Regions from separate parts of the Homo sapiens genome. Here all the other regions are linked to region 1. The links are contacts of gene promoters, found by promoter capture Hi-C in blood cells and fetal thymus (Javierre and others, 2016). All regions are on one chromosome and are shown on one strand. Each heading gives the region's core, a stretch centred on a gene start or on the middle of the fragment in contact. The rest is flanking DNA. Distances are from core to core; before and after follow the strand shown. Region 1 holds the start of SLC4A4 (solute carrier family 4 member 4). Region 2 has its middle 91 kb from the start of GC. Region 3 holds the start of UTP3 (UTP3 small subunit processome component). Region 4 holds the start of GRSF1 (G-rich RNA sequence binding factor 1).

Region 1 (3,533 bases), core at 291-2,790:
AAATTATTTACATGCTAATATGAAAGACACAAGAAAGAGAGCTGTAGTCAGAAACGTTTTCAAAAGACATCACATTGGCTATAAAAAGCTACTGAATATTGTTCTAATGGCATTGACGAATCTACTGAAATCACAATGAAAAAAAAAAGCCCAAATGAGCAATGTACACTTTAATTAATTTAATTCAGGTAGTATTACAACTCCAAGTCCCAAGATACAAGAAAAAAGAGAAATACAGTACAACACAGTGTCTCTTAGGAAAGGAACTGCTGCAGGATTTGAGACAATGAGCGTTTAGTACAGCCCAGTGTTCTTGATTTCTCATTAGGAGCAACTTTCCAGGGCACTGAAGCGAACCAGGAAAAGAAATGGGGAGGGTAAGCCAAAGGGGTCGCTGCTCTTCAGTGTCAAGTTGGAAAGAGCTTGCTGCGATCAATTATGCTGAGAAGGTAGGGCCTTGAGAGGGAAGGAAGGATAGAAAAAAACAGTTTTACAGGGCGCTGAAAAAAGTGATAGAAGAGAGGTAGAACTGCTTCCTCCATCTTTCACGTCAAGTTCAAGTTTTTCTTTTTGTTCTATAAGAACTTTTGTCTTTATGGTGCTTGCTGCGGTTTGCTGATGTAGTTCCCAGGTCCTGCCTTCCTCTGGTGACTTATTAACGGACTGGCAACGGCTGAGTAAAATGCACTTAAGAAAAAAGAAATCACCTCTCTTTGCCAAGACTCACATGCTGCCCAGTACCTGAGGGAGAGCTCCGTTGTCGCTGGCCAAGAGAAATTCCAGTTTAACCTATGCCTCCCCTAGCCAAATCCATTGCAAATAAATGTGTGTGTGCCACTTGCAGAGAATCTGCCTGACTCACCCCCCGCCTTTGGCGTGCCAGGGAGAGATGTAAATGCTCCGTCCTGGAGCTGGCAGTGAAGTGGGGGCCGCGGCCTCGGTAGCACCAAGAGTCCCCAAATCTCCCCCTGTGATGGGTTTAGGGATGTGTTCCTCTCAAGCAGGTGCCTGGTCACAGGGCGACCACCCAGGCTCACAGCAACACACGTGTCACTGAGCCCGAGCCCAGCCCGCCGCAGAACTGGCCCCGCAGTCCTCGTAAAGACGCCCAGTTGCGCGCAGGGGACTTAGCAGTGAGGGAGAAGCAGACCACCCAAACTCTTCCTCTAAACCCTAAGAAGGAAAAAAAATACTTTTCCGCGGAAGCAGCCTCCACACACCGCCCGCGCCCAGCTCAGGGGATGCCCGGCCCGCAATTGACCTCTCTCTCCCTCCCAGGAGCGCGCTGAGGCCGCCTGCGCGCCCTACGGAATCGGCCCCCGGGCCCGCGCCCGCCTCCGCCTTGGAGCGAGGGACCCCATCGACCCTCCCGGCAGCTGCCGGGGCCGGGCGCTCACCTCCTGGGGTCTGGCTTCCGTCGCTCCTCCAGTTTGGCGGCGGAGTGTGGGGCTGCAGCGGCCACTGCCACTGCCGCCGCCGCCGCCGCCTTCGCTGCCACCGCGGCCGCCGCCGCCACCGAAGCGCTGCCCGGCGCGCCGCCGGGGTTGGAGGCTGGGGGGCCGCGGAATCCCTGGAGGCGCGAGCCCGGGACGCGGCGGGGCCGAGCCGCGGGAAGTTGTCTGCGCCGGGCGCGGAGCGAGCGGGGCGCCAGTCACCCGCGCCCAAGTAGTCACAACTTTGCCGCCTGGGTGGGTGCGCGCTCCGGAGAGAGGCGAGCGCGGGAGAGCGGGGCAAAGGCGCTGGGGCGGGAGGGTCTTCGGAGCAGGCAGGACTGCAACCTGAACGGCCCGCGAGGAAAGGGGAAAGGTGGCGCGGGGGGATGTCTACACAGCCTGTGTGGTGCGCGGCGAGCGAGTGTGTAAGAGCGCGGGCGTCTACTCTACTTTGCCTCCTGCAGCTCCTGCATATTTATGGGGATCTCTGATGTTCCTGCTAGTAACTAACACTGCAGCAGTGGAGCCCAGCCCAGGCGCCCCTCGGGAGCAAGCCGGGGTGCGGGGGCTCACGGAAGGCGGCCGCGGCGGAGGCTGTGCCGCGAGCGCGAGCCTGCGATCCATATTTAAAGCCGTAAGTGGCCTCGGCCGGCCCCCTGCCCTGCCCTCGCTCGTGCCCGCCAGCCCGGCCCCCACCGCTCCGGGCCGCTGCTCGGCGTCAGCCGCCCGGGCATCGGCGGCGGGGAGGGGCCTCGAGCCGCGCCGCCTCCGCCGGGGGCTTGGGCTCTGTGCGCAGCGCCCGCCCGGAGCTGGCGGAGGACCCGGCTCCGGACCGGCCGCTCTTGCCTCCCAGGTTCCTTTTCTCTCACGCCCTGGGCTGGGTCCTAGGTCCAGCTTTTTGTCCTACTCAAAAGAGTTCCCCAGTGGGGAGAGCCTGTGCTTTCATGCAGAACTAAAATTGCGTGAGTTTCCCAGCTCAGATCACTCTTGACTCTACTTTATAAAACTTGGGGCGTATAGAGTGCTGCCATAACACAGTATTAAGTAATTGTTCACCTTTAACAAAAGATGTCTGAAGATAACGTGGTTGTCAACTGTGTCCTTCACTTATGTCACTGATGCCTTTCTGTCTTCCTTGGGAGTTAGGAAAACAGCCTTAGCAAAGTGATTATTTGTATTTATTCTGTTCCTAAGTCTAATAATGAGGTTCAAGTACTCTTTGCCAAGCAAATAATATATCAGTGATCCAGCACCATTGCCATTGGTAAACTATTGAATCATAAGTAAACCATTAAGATATGAACAGACTGTCAGCACAGACACACCATCTATTGTTCTGGGTACTGCTAGAGAGTAGTCACTTAATGGATTGCAACCACATGGTATATCATGCAAGTGTATATCATTTTCTAGTAATACATATTATATGTAATGTGTATGTGGACATCACTGACCAAACTGTGTTTTCAACAGTAGCCACCAAAATGCATAAAGCTCAAGAGAAATAATTTAACATACCAACTGCTCCTGGTCCCCAGTATTTCTTCAATACAAAGCTATAGCTTATAGGACCTCCAAGAGAAAAAAAAAATGAGGGTAGGGAGGAAATAATTTGAGGACAGAGGCTTTTCTTTCTAGTATTCAAAACTGGAAGAGATCCAGAGATCCATGGTGCCTCACCAGTGCTTGGAAAGCAGGTATGGAGCCTGTGTCTTTTAAAAAGTTTCTATCTTTAAAATCCTTAGTTAATGCTCAGAAGGCACAAGGAAACACGCCAATCTGATGTCTGAAATTAAAATGTACTGTCATGTGTCTGTTGTCACATCTGGCTCACATATATGTTCACACATTCTACATAACCCAGTGCAGTGATATATCACTGGGAATTTTTCATGGGAAACTCAAAACCAAAGATAAAACAAAAATTTAGCTTTAAAGTTTTCACCTAAATGATTATGTTCTGTTTCTAGGCTAATGTTAAAATTAACTTTCACTCCCTGAGCAGGCAGTTAGCAAGAATCAGCAACCGCAAAGTAAGCTAACAGGCAAAGGGAAGTCACTTTTGTATTAAAAATTTGCCATTGCTGTTCAGCAGTTTTT
Region 2 (3,533 bases), core at 492-2,991, 510 kb before region 1:
GAATGTTTTTGATTTGAGTCCTATATTACTGAAAAGAATCTTAATTATTTGGCAAGCTGACATCCTCGTAAGATTCTATCTGCCCAGCAAGACAGATGAGAGAAATCGTGTGAGAGAGGACACTAAAGCAATGAAGCTCTTTTTATAAAACAATCACTTGTATAACCCGTATTTCCTGATATGAAAACTTCTGGTGAGGCACTGAAGTGAGGGGTTTGGTGAAAACTATCTAGAATCTATGGAATAGCAAAAGTTAATCTCAAAACATCAATATCTGTATCTATCCATATGCCTGCCTATCTATGTATATTTGTAAAAAGACAAAAAGAACAAATGGTTTGGGATAGGTTATTTGTACCTGTCTATAATTTTAACTTAGTCTGATTTTTTATTCTAAAGAATTGCACCAATTTTTGAAAAGAGTCTGTTTAAATAGACAGACTGAGAAACATCTCTGTCATGGAGCTCTTGGTGAGTATGTTCGCTAAGTAGAAACATTTTGATTATCCTAGAGAAAAAATTCTGAATAAATATAAATTTGACAAATATTTTCCTAAGAGGATAATAGCTGGAGATACTACATTACTTATTATGTTTTCAGACAGGTTCTGCTGGTCACAGAAGAACTAAAGGGTGCTAAGTCCATTTTGATTTCCATCATACAGTGGCATACAATATGATAAGGTCTACTACTCTTGGGTATGAGAAGACCAAGGTGACTAAATTTGCCCTAGTCTTCATTTAGTAAATATTTCTTAGGCATTAATTCCATGTCAGCTATTGCAGTAAATGCTGTTAATGCAAGTTGAGTAAAAATAATAGTAACAGCAAGAATCACTGATTTTTATCACCAGTTCATTATGTGCCAGGCACTATACTAAATGCTTTAAATACATCATCTCCTTTCATCCTCACCATAGCCCTGTGACGAAAGTACTATTATTGTCCTTATTTTATGGGGAATGTAAATCTCAGACAGATCTGAGGTTTTTTGTAAAATTGACCTTGTAATTTTTATAAGGTCATAGAGCTAGGATTTAAGTACAGCTCTGTTTTACTCCATTGCCAAAGTTCTCACCCAATACTACTTTAATTGTACTACTTCACAGTATAGCATGGCTCAATCACTAAAATTCTTTCCCCAAATCCATAAAATTCAATTTGAGATTTTGACCTAAGAAAGATAATGTAGAAGTGGGTTTGAGAAAGGGGATTTAATTCCACGGTAATACAGAAATGGCATTAAGTAATCTTTTCTTAGAATGAGTTTATGGACCATTTCACATAAGCTCTCCAAGTTCAAAAGTCAGGATTATAGTAATTTTGGCTTGACTCAAGTGACTAAAGAAAAACAGAATTGAAAGAAAGGGCTTTCAGAAGCTCAAGTCCAGTGTGTGTGTGTGAGTGTGTGTGTGCATGCAAAATGAAAATAGTATAGAAAAGAGAGCTGGAGTTTTGAATCAATAAATAAATCCATTCTGGTTTTTAGTCACTAAAGCAAAAAAAAAAAAAAAAAAAATTGAGTCTGCATACATTTTTTGGTAAGGGAGAATCCAAAGCTTTCCTGAGTTCTCCAAAAAGATTTTCACCCAAAATTCTCAGCTAAAAGTGGGGAAAAAACATTTTTCAAGAATCCAAAGAGAAGGTAGTGTACAAATGTAACTATTAGTTGAACTCAGAATTCTGGAAATCATCGGAGAACAACTGTAAAGTACAGAATAATTGGCTTCCAAGCCTGTGTATCCCTGACACGTGTCATTTTGGTATTTTATCTGTCAGGCCTCTTCCCCACCATTGATCTTTCCTTCTGTGAATTTAATACTCCTGGCCTCTCTCTGCCTCCCCCTCTCATTTAGTTCCAGATACATAGAAAGACTTAATCTGATCAGTGAATTTGGGAGAGTAACTGTGAATGGAAGCTTCCAGGAAACATGCTACCCTCTGCAGCTTGGGAAGAATCTACACTTGGAGCAGGAAACTCCTGCCCTATTCTAGTGCAAATGAAGCTGAATAGATGCCCTTCAAATTCTAGATACAGCGTCAGGGGCCAACTTATACAGAGACAAAGTCAAATTATCTAGTTTTATTAGTAATTAAGGTCATTTTTGAGGCCTGTATATACTGACCCTTTTCTTTCTGTTCTTCACTTATTCTGAAACTGAATGTGGATGCAGTGTATTATTTATCAGACCTTTTCAAAGAATCCAAAACTATACATAAATACATAACAAGCTGGCAAATGGAATGCAAAAGAAAATGTTTCTCCTTGGCATATTCTGGAAGTAAACAACTAGAAGCAGATAGAGGGGACTTACAAAAGCCCAGAGAGGTGACAAGAAGAAAGTTTCTAGCCCTAAATCTGCAGCCATGGAAACATTTGATAGAAGAGAATTCGAATTAGCATTGAGGCAGTAAGTGGGGACAATTCTGACTAATAGAAGAAAGTCTTCCAGGTATTGTTCAGATATTTTATTTTCTAGCCATCCCATCTTTTATCTTTCATTTTCTTTTCTAACCATGATAACTTAAGCAGGAATTGTACAAGGCATGTGTTTTGCTCACGTCTTATTCCAGAGAGCATAATGGACCAAGGGCTCCAGCTTGGAAATCTGTACCAGGGTTTGCTTCAAGGCTACTCCTCTCACAGGCTGCTCCAGCCAGTGACTGACTGTAGCACTGATACTAAGGCAGATCCCATTCCAGAGAAACACTGGACTTTTTTTTGACCAACTTTGTATTGAGGATTTCCTGGTGGCTTTGCCAAAACTGTGTGGCACTCCACCCAACATTCACTCACACTCTCTCTGTCTGTCTGTCTCTCTCTCTCTCTCTGTCTCTCTCTCTTTCATTCTGGGTTAGACGTGCATAGTGGTCAGGTGGTTCTCCTATTTCCTTCACACAGGCATGTTCCCCTAATAGAGTTTATATGTTTAATCTCATCCTGGTATCTGCTTCTTGGAGGACCCTGAGGGAAAGTTTTACAGATAGCACAAATAGAATTCATTTATACTGGAAAAGAGCCAGAGTGACCAGCATTTATACAACTTTATAAAATAATAAAAGAACAGTTAGCTAAAGGTTTAGAAGATAGTTAATACAGCTCAATAGCCAATGCAAGGTGGTCCTGTACTTTAAAGGAAAGATGTTGTGTAATGTCAGAAAGAAATAATAGCACTTGGATTTGTCAGAACTGTTACTGACTCTGTCTAGTAAGCATGAGTATGGGAGAAGGATTGGCATGGGGTTTAGCTGAGAATGAAACGTAGGCATAGACCCAAAACAAAGAAAGAACACAGCGACTTTCCTATTCGCACTGACCATGAGTTTTATCAGCACCACTTAAAGAAGTGATTGGTGATTAGCACTAGAAATGCATTATTTGGCTTTATTCAGTGGGTTTCCAGAGTGTAGAGTAGAGTGTAGTAGAACAAGAAATAGCACCCCTTACAGATTGGTGCCTCAACAAGATATATCTTGTTTACGTGGTACTCTTCCAAAATAAATCTGAGCCTTGCCAATTCCCTCCATTACAT
Region 3 (3,533 bases), core at 260-2,759, 500 kb after region 1:
GAACTTCACGAACCTGGCCTCTTCTTCTAATTTTGGCTCTTCTGAACTTCTCTCTGTGTTTCACTCTGGGATTGCGATCAATCTTCTTTCTCCTAGGAGTAAGTCCCCTATTTTTAGCAATTTGATAGGTAATAGCTCTCTTTGCATTTTGATCTTCAAGAGCCTGTTCTTCAGTGCTATTTTCTTCTTTCTTTCTCTTTAGCTTTTGCCTGTCTTCTATTTCTTTATAGTACTTCAGTTTTGCTTTTTCATCAAAATCAGAATCATCAGAAAGATCTGTAACAGCACAGGCAGCAGCAGAAGTCTTTGAAACAGACTTTGGTTTGGGCTTGGTGGATTTTGCTTTTGGAATCAGTTCTTTCTTTACAGCATCATCCTTAAGTGTCAACAGATGACGAATTTCTGAGGACAGCTTCTGATCCACAACGGACAGCTTGTTGATCAAATTTCGGTAGGTAACAAGCCTTTCTATGACAGGATGTCCATGTGCTGGGACTCTCCTAGCTTTCAGGATCAAATAAAAACTGATGTTCGAGCAATAATTCAAGTAGAGGTTGTACTTGGTCCTCAAGTATTGGCTTCCTTTTCCGGGTGGAATGATCCCTTGTTCCACCAACTCTAACAATGGCTCCAGCTCATCCTTAACCTCTGTCAACTTGACTTTCAGGTCTTCTATCAGCTCCAAGAGTTCTGGTGATTCCTTTCGCAACATTTTCAGCTTCTCTTTCACTGAAACTTTAGCCAAATCCTTCACGACCCGTGTCTCAGCCTCATCTACCTGAGGCACTGGTTTTGCAAAGGCCTCAACCCAGGCGACACCAAAATCATCCTCTTGCAGCGCTTGGGCTAGGCGCCGCTGAATGATCTGTGCCTCCTCCTCCTCCTCTCTTTCCTCCTCCTCTGCCTCCTGTTGACTCTGCCGGCCTCGGGACTTGGAACCATAGTCCGTGTCATAGTAAAGTTTTTTCCTCTGACCCCACGACAAACTGGGATCCACAGAGGCCTCAGCTTCACTTTGCACGGAGCTCCCACCATCATCATCGGCATTCTCCTCCTCCTCCTCCTCCCCCGCATTCCCTCCATCTTCGTCGTCCTCATCGTCCATATCTAGGGCTAGCACCTCCTCCTCCTCCTCCTCGCCATCCTCCTCGTCTCCACTCTGTACTTCATTCCAGCCCTTAGCTAAGGCGGCCCGGGATCGTGCCTCATGAAAGTCATCTACCTGATCTTGGTAGTAGCTGGTGTCCCCTGGTGAGGGTGGCAATCCTAAATCATCTCCATTTTCGTCGGTGAGCGTGGGACCTGCCTTGGCTCGCACAGCTGCCCACTTAGCTGCTCCGCGCCGCCGGGATCTCCCCACCATGGCTCACAATCTCAGGTTTTACAGCGACTCCGGACTTTCGGCCACCACTGACTTCGGCGCAGGAATCAGGCGCTCCGGTAACTCGTGGCTCTAAACAGCAGCGCGCTCCCCTACCACCGGAGTTTGCAGACTCCTGATCGGCTACTGGAATTTCCTCTTCCTTCCGGCCCCCAGCATGCTCTCCGCGTGGCGTACGATTGAGGACTTCCGCTCGGTCCCTTAGTCGAGATCACGTTGATACCAACTTCCTTTTCACTGTGCCCTTTAACGCCAGTCGATTCCGGTGAATTAAAATCTTTCCGTGTGGAAACGATAGGATAAGGAAGTTCCGTTCCACAGAACGCTTTCTCGGGCTAATGCGCTTACTCTCGAGTGCCTGGGAGTGGCTGGGGGACGGAATCCTGACGGCACCTCCAGGCGAGGTCCCGATGGCCAATAGAGGGCGCTGCGCTTTACGCCCCGGAGAAGTCCCGGGGGCGTTCCATTGAGGTTTAACTGCGTGTGTACCCGGCGCTTGCGACCGGCAGTCTAGTGCTAGCGTAGTTTTCCTGCTCCCTTGTTTTCTCTTTTCTGCTTATCAGGCTGGAAGTTAATCAGATTGCTTTCCTCTCATTTCACCCCCACCCCCAATACCATATTTCTGGGTACCACAGCCTCAGGCAGCGCCGCTGGACTCCAGAATCCCACGGGAGGTTTCCGGGCGAGAGCGCAGGCCGGGCCTCCGGCTCGGGTTTACTCATCCCCATCGCCCTCTCCCTGCTCACAGGGCTCGGTGACCCGCTCCATGGGGATCGATAAAGCTAGATGACCCCGAGGCTGACAGTGGGAAGGCAGAGCCCCGCTGCAGGGTCTGACTCTTCTCAAGGAAGTCTGCCCTGTAATGTTAGAGTAATTCAGGGTGTAAGTTTTTAGGCATTACATATGTAAGGTTCAGGGTTAGTATTATTATACCTTTTAATGTAGGTAGTTGGAAGCTGAACTTTTGATACGTTGCTAAAATTAATGGTGACATGGCTGGGCGCGGTGGCTCATGCCCATAATCCTAAGCACTTTGGGAGGCCGAAGTGGGTGGATCACTTGAGGTCAGGAGTGCAAAACCAGCCTGGCCAACATGGGGAAACCCAGTCTCTACTACAAATACAAAAAATTAGCGGGGCGTGGTGGCGGGTACCTGTAATCCCAGCTACTCGGGAGGTTGAGGCAGGAGAATCACTTGAACCCGGGAGGCGGAGGTGGCAGTAAGCCGATATCGCACCACTGCACTCTAGCCTGGGCGACAGACAGAGACTCTGTCTCAAAATAAATAAATAAATAAATAAAATAAAATTAATGGTGACAATTTCTTTTTCTTTTGTTTTTTGTTTCTTTTTTCTTTTTCTTTTTTTCTTTTTTTTTTTTTGAGACGGAGGCTCGCTCTGTTGCCAGGCTGGAGTGCAGTGGCAATCTCGGCCCACTGCAACCTCCGACCCCCTGGTTCAAGTGATTCTCCTCCCTCAGCCTCCCGAGTAGCTGGCATTACAGGCACGCGCCACCACTCCCAGCTAATTTTTGTATTTTTAGTAGAGACGGGGTTTCATCATGTTGGCCAGGATGGTCTCCATCTCCTGACCTCGTGATACGCCCGCCTCGGCCTCCCAAAGTGCTGGGATTGATTACAGGCGTGAGTCACCGCGCCCAGCCAATGGTGACAATTTCTTTTCAGAAAGTATAGTGTCATTAGGTTAATAAAAATAATGCAAAATGTTAGAAAAGTGATACTTTGAAATAAACATTTTCCAAGTGCCTAAAGGTGTCCGAAACATTTTGAAATTTTTACAAGATTTTAGAAAATAAAATTAAATTAGAAAGTTGTGGGCAAAAGTTATGTTCTGATGGTAAGCATGAATTTATTTTTTAATGTAAATTTTAGTACATTTTGTCATTTAGCAGATATTAACTGCTTACTGTTTGTTGTAGAATGCTACAGACAATAGTGATGAATCAGCCAGTTAAGGACTGTATAATCAGGTAGAAAAGAAGACACTCATACAGATTACTGGAATACAAGGCAGTGTATGATGTAAACCCGGTGCTGTAAGAGAACAGAAGGATAAGAGATAACCTTTAGATTGCTGTTTTGGGAATATTGCTTAAAGAATATGACATCTATGCTGGAATTGTAGTTATTTCC
Region 4 (3,533 bases), core at 588-3,087, 350 kb after region 1:
AAGAAATACTGAATTTTCCTTACCTAAAAGTAGTCCAGGTTAAACAAGTCAAACTTTAAATGTAATACCCATTGCTTTAAAATATTCTAGCAAAGAAAATAAGGTCTGGAAGATGGTGGTAGGGGATAGATGAAACAAGACTGAAAAGTGTTGACAATTTATGAAGTTCTGGAAATTCATTCTGCTCTTCTGTTTGACATTTTCCACAGTAAGGAGTTTTTAAAAATACTAGCTTTCTCTTATTTTTTACTCTAACAACTTCCTTTTGCTTGTCTTTGACAAGTCCTGGCTCAGGAGGAGAAAAGCTGCACAACCAGTCTTTGTGTATGTGTGTGCAAATCTCTGTGTGTTCACTTGTGAATACAGTTTCATTAGGGGAGGGTTCACCTTTGTTATGTATTATCAGTACATAATAAATATATATGTTTTCTTTTATTTTTTTAGAGACAGGGTTTCACTCTGTCACCCAGGCTGGAGTTCAGTGGTGGCAATCATAGCTTACCACAGCCTCTACCTTCTGGGCTGAAGCAATCGGCCTCCCAAGTAGCTGGGACTACAGGCCCACGCCATCACACCCAGCTTTATTTATTTTTTGTATAGACGGGGTCTCCCTATGTTGCCCAGGCTGGTCTGGAACTCTTGGGCTCCAGTGATCCTCTCACTTCAGCCTCCCAAAGCGCTGGGATTATAGGCATGAGCCACCACGCCAGGCCTATATTTCATTTTAAAACAACGAAGTTCTCCTTCCTCACATACCTCAAATTCGGGGGGTACCAAATCTCTGATATTATCCCAACGATTTTTTTATAACCAAGGTATCACAATTCCTTTCAGAAAGGGTTCTTTAGCCACTCACACCACGGGTTTCGGTGGCACAGCGCAGGGCAGCACAGACTTGTGCTACAGCTCTCGGCCCTACCCAGAGCAGGATGGCCCTAACCTAATTTTTTTGTTTGTTTGTTTGGAGATGGCGTCTCACTCTGTCGCCCAGGCTGCAGTGCGGTGGCACGATCTTGGCTCACTGCAACCTCCGCCTCCTGGGTTCAAGCGATTCTCCTGCCTCAGCCTCCTGAGTAGCTGGGATTACGGGCACCCGTCACCACACCCGGCTAATTTTTGTGTTTTTAGTAGAGACACAGTTTCACCATGTTGGCCAGGCTGGTCTTGAACTGCTGACCTCAGGTGATCCGCCCTACCTCGGCCTACTAAAGTGCTGGGATTACAGGCGGGAGCCACCGCGTCCGACCTAATTTTTTGTATTTTAGTAGAGACGGGATTTCACCGTGTTGCCTAGGTTGGTCTCGAACTCCTGACCTCAGGCAGTCCACCCGCCTCTGCCTGCCAAAGTGCTAGGATTACAAGAATGAGTCACTACGAATGAGTCACTGCGCCAGGCCCCTAGCCTCACTTACTTTGGGCCTCAGTTTCCACCGCCTGAAAAAAGAGCAGTTCGATTGCACCCACTTCCCCGGGCCCCGCCCAAACCATGGGCAGCCCCGCCCAAACCATGGGCAGCCCCGCCCAAACCATGGGCAGCCCCGCCCAAACCATGGGCAGCCCCGCCCAAACCATGGGCAGCCCCGCCCAAACCATGGGCAGCCCCGCCCAAACCATGGGCAGCCCCGCCCAAACCATGGGCAGCCCCGCCCAAACCATGGGCAGCCCCGCCCAAACCATGGGCAGCCCCGCCCAAACCATGGGCAGCCCCGCCCAAGGGCGGAGACTGGGCGGAGCGTCGCGCTCTCCTCCACCTCCTTCCGACTCTCGGAGGCCCCCCACCCAGTGCCCGCGGCGCATGTGCCAGGCACACCCCACCCCCAACCGGCCCTGGATTCCACTTCCGTTCCACCATCGCTGCTGGAGCAGCTGCCTTCAGGCCCTGCGCCGCCTCCGGAGTCCATGGCCGGCACGCGCTGGGTACTCGGGGCGCTGCTCCGGGGCTGCGGCTGTAACTGCAGCAGCTGCCGGCGCACCGGCGCCGCCTGCCTGCCCTTCTACTCCGCCGCTGGCTCTATCCCGTCGGGCGTCTCGGGCCGCCGCCGCCTGCTGCTGCTGCTCGGGGCCGCCGCGGCCGCTGCCTCCCAGACGCGTGGCCTCCAGACCGGGCCTGTGCCTCCCGGGAGGCTGGCGGGGCCTCCCGCTGTGGCCACCTCTGCCGCGGCCGCGGCCGCCGCGTCCTACTCTGCCCTCCGTGCCTCTCTGCTGCCGCAGTCGCTGGCGGCGGCGGCCGCCGTCCCGACGCGCAGCTACAGCCAGGTACGTGGGCGCCGTGAGGGACCTGGCGCGAGATCCCTCCCGGGCCGCGTGCACGCGCCCCCGCGCCCCTCCGTCCCTCCGTGTGCGCCTCGCGGGCACGCCCGGGGATCCGCGACACTCGCCGCACACCCGCCCCCGTCCACCCTGTGCTCCTATTGGGCCCTGGAACAAGGGAAGCTCTCCCAGGCGTCGGGTCTTCTGCTTGTTTTGTTCTCGCCTCGAGTCTCTGGTCGGTTGGGCAGTGTAAGTGTGGCTGGGGTGAATGTTGAGGCCTTGTTCCCCGCCTGGCCCATGGTAGGTTTCGTGAGGCTGCTGACGCCCCCACCTCGCATCTTCTTGCTTTCCGCCGGCTGGTTGTGAAGTTGCGAGGCCCGAGCCCGCCGGAGGGTTGGGAGTTTCCGTGCAGCCCGAGCGCTAGGCCTGGGCGGCCCTCGGCGCCTCTCGGTCGGCCGCTGCTGGGAAGGTGCGCGCACACAGTTGCGTGGGCTGGCTTGTAGGGAAGGAGCCTGTCCCCATCGCGCCGTTCCCTCTCCTGTCCCCAGGGAAAGACGAGCTGTCCCGGTTTACTGAAGGTCACCTCTGCAACTCCACTCATACAGAAGGTCTTTAAGGACTGTGTGTCGCCTCGTCTGGGAAAGCAGTTTGGAGATTTAGCTGTTGGGGGGAGGGGGTGAATGGGAGGGAGCGTTGAGGGTTGAGGACACAACTTGGGGTCCCAGGAATGAATTTGCAATGTTTTCCTTTCCATTTTTTCTTTATTTTTTTAGAAAAGTCGGTGTGTAGTTAGATTGCAAATATTTTGTGCTTTGTAGATGAACCTTTCTCTTCTTGGTACGTGGCATCTGGGAAGTGTCTGCACACTTTTTAACTACCCAGCCCCTGATTCCTTAGGTCATATTTATCTTAATTCAATTTGTGCTTCTCCTTTAACTTAGGGAGACTGGGAGGCTAATCAGCATGGCTGCTGTCTGCCAGTGGCTGAGCTAATTGATTTGAATCCTGGCCCAATACTTTACGCTGCCTTTTTCTGTAAAAGCTTGTGATGCTTATGGAATTATGGAAAAATGGGGAAAGTTGTCTACAAAAACCACAACAAAACCATCTCCAGTAAACCTTTGTGAGCTAGCTTCTCTCTTTTTTTTTCTATGAAATTGACTGCGGTGATATCTGTAGAGCATCTACTATGTGTTAGACACTGCTTACATTTATTCCTTAAAACTAAACATTAAGCCTTTTTTTTTTTTTTTTTTTGGAGACCGAGTCTCGCTCTGTCGCCC

What was found. The method cuts DNA at HindIII sites, captures the fragments that hold promoters and counts their contacts. A CHiCAGO score of 5 or more calls a contact.
Region 2: a fragment that was not itself captured here is called in contact with the fragment with the promoter of SLC4A4 in region 1 in 1 of 17 cell types (M2 macrophages); the score reaches 5.6 in M2 macrophages.
Region 3: a contact is called between the fragment with the promoter of UTP3 here and the fragment with the promoter of SLC4A4 in region 1, in 2 of 17 cell types (fetal thymus and erythroblasts). The highest score is 8.0, in fetal thymus.
Region 4: the fragment with the promoter of GRSF1 here is called in contact with the fragment with the promoter of SLC4A4 in region 1 in 2 of 17 cell types (fetal thymus and total B cells); the score reaches 9.1 in fetal thymus.

Annotation. Positions count from the first base shown.
Region 1 is chr4:71,185,266-71,188,798 of GRCh38, reverse strand. SLC4A4 (solute carrier family 4 member 4) reads right to left here and starts at 1,540. Exons shown (of 26, transcript NM_001098484.3): 1 at 1,398-1,540. It overlaps LOC124900712 (a long non-coding RNA gene), which reads left to right and starts at 2,275. Exons shown (of 2, transcript XR_007058133.1): 1 at 2,275-3,533. The HindIII fragment of the contact is 10,115 bases long and covers 1-3,533 here.
Region 2 is chr4:71,691,607-71,695,139 of GRCh38, reverse strand. No RefSeq gene overlaps it. Among named protein-coding and RNA genes, the nearest start is that of GC, 91 kb to the left of the region's middle. The HindIII fragment of the contact is 360 bases long and covers 1,562-1,921 here.
Region 3 is chr4:70,686,508-70,690,040 of GRCh38, reverse strand. UTP3 (UTP3 small subunit processome component) reads right to left here and starts at 1,509. Exons shown (of 1, transcript NM_020368.3): 1 at 1-1,509. The coding sequence starts at 1,363. It overlaps LOC101927297 (a long non-coding RNA gene), which reads right to left. Exons shown (of 4, transcript XR_938860.3): 4 at 3,225-3,434. RefSeq lists enhancers at 1,384-1,443, 645-1,613, 2,144-2,233, 1,614-2,584. The HindIII fragment of the contact is 6,672 bases long and covers 1-3,533 here.
Region 4 is chr4:70,838,194-70,841,726 of GRCh38, reverse strand. GRSF1 (G-rich RNA sequence binding factor 1) reads left to right here and starts at 1,837. Exons shown (of 10, transcript NM_002092.4): 1 at 1,837-2,256. The coding sequence starts at 1,900. It overlaps LOC124900710 (a long non-coding RNA gene), which reads right to left and starts at 2,735. Exons shown (of 3, transcript XR_007058131.1): 1 at 2,582-2,735. RefSeq lists silencers at 1,570-1,819, 1,880-2,429 and enhancers at 1,826-2,479, 2,480-3,134. The HindIII fragment of the contact is 9,073 bases long and covers 1-3,294 here.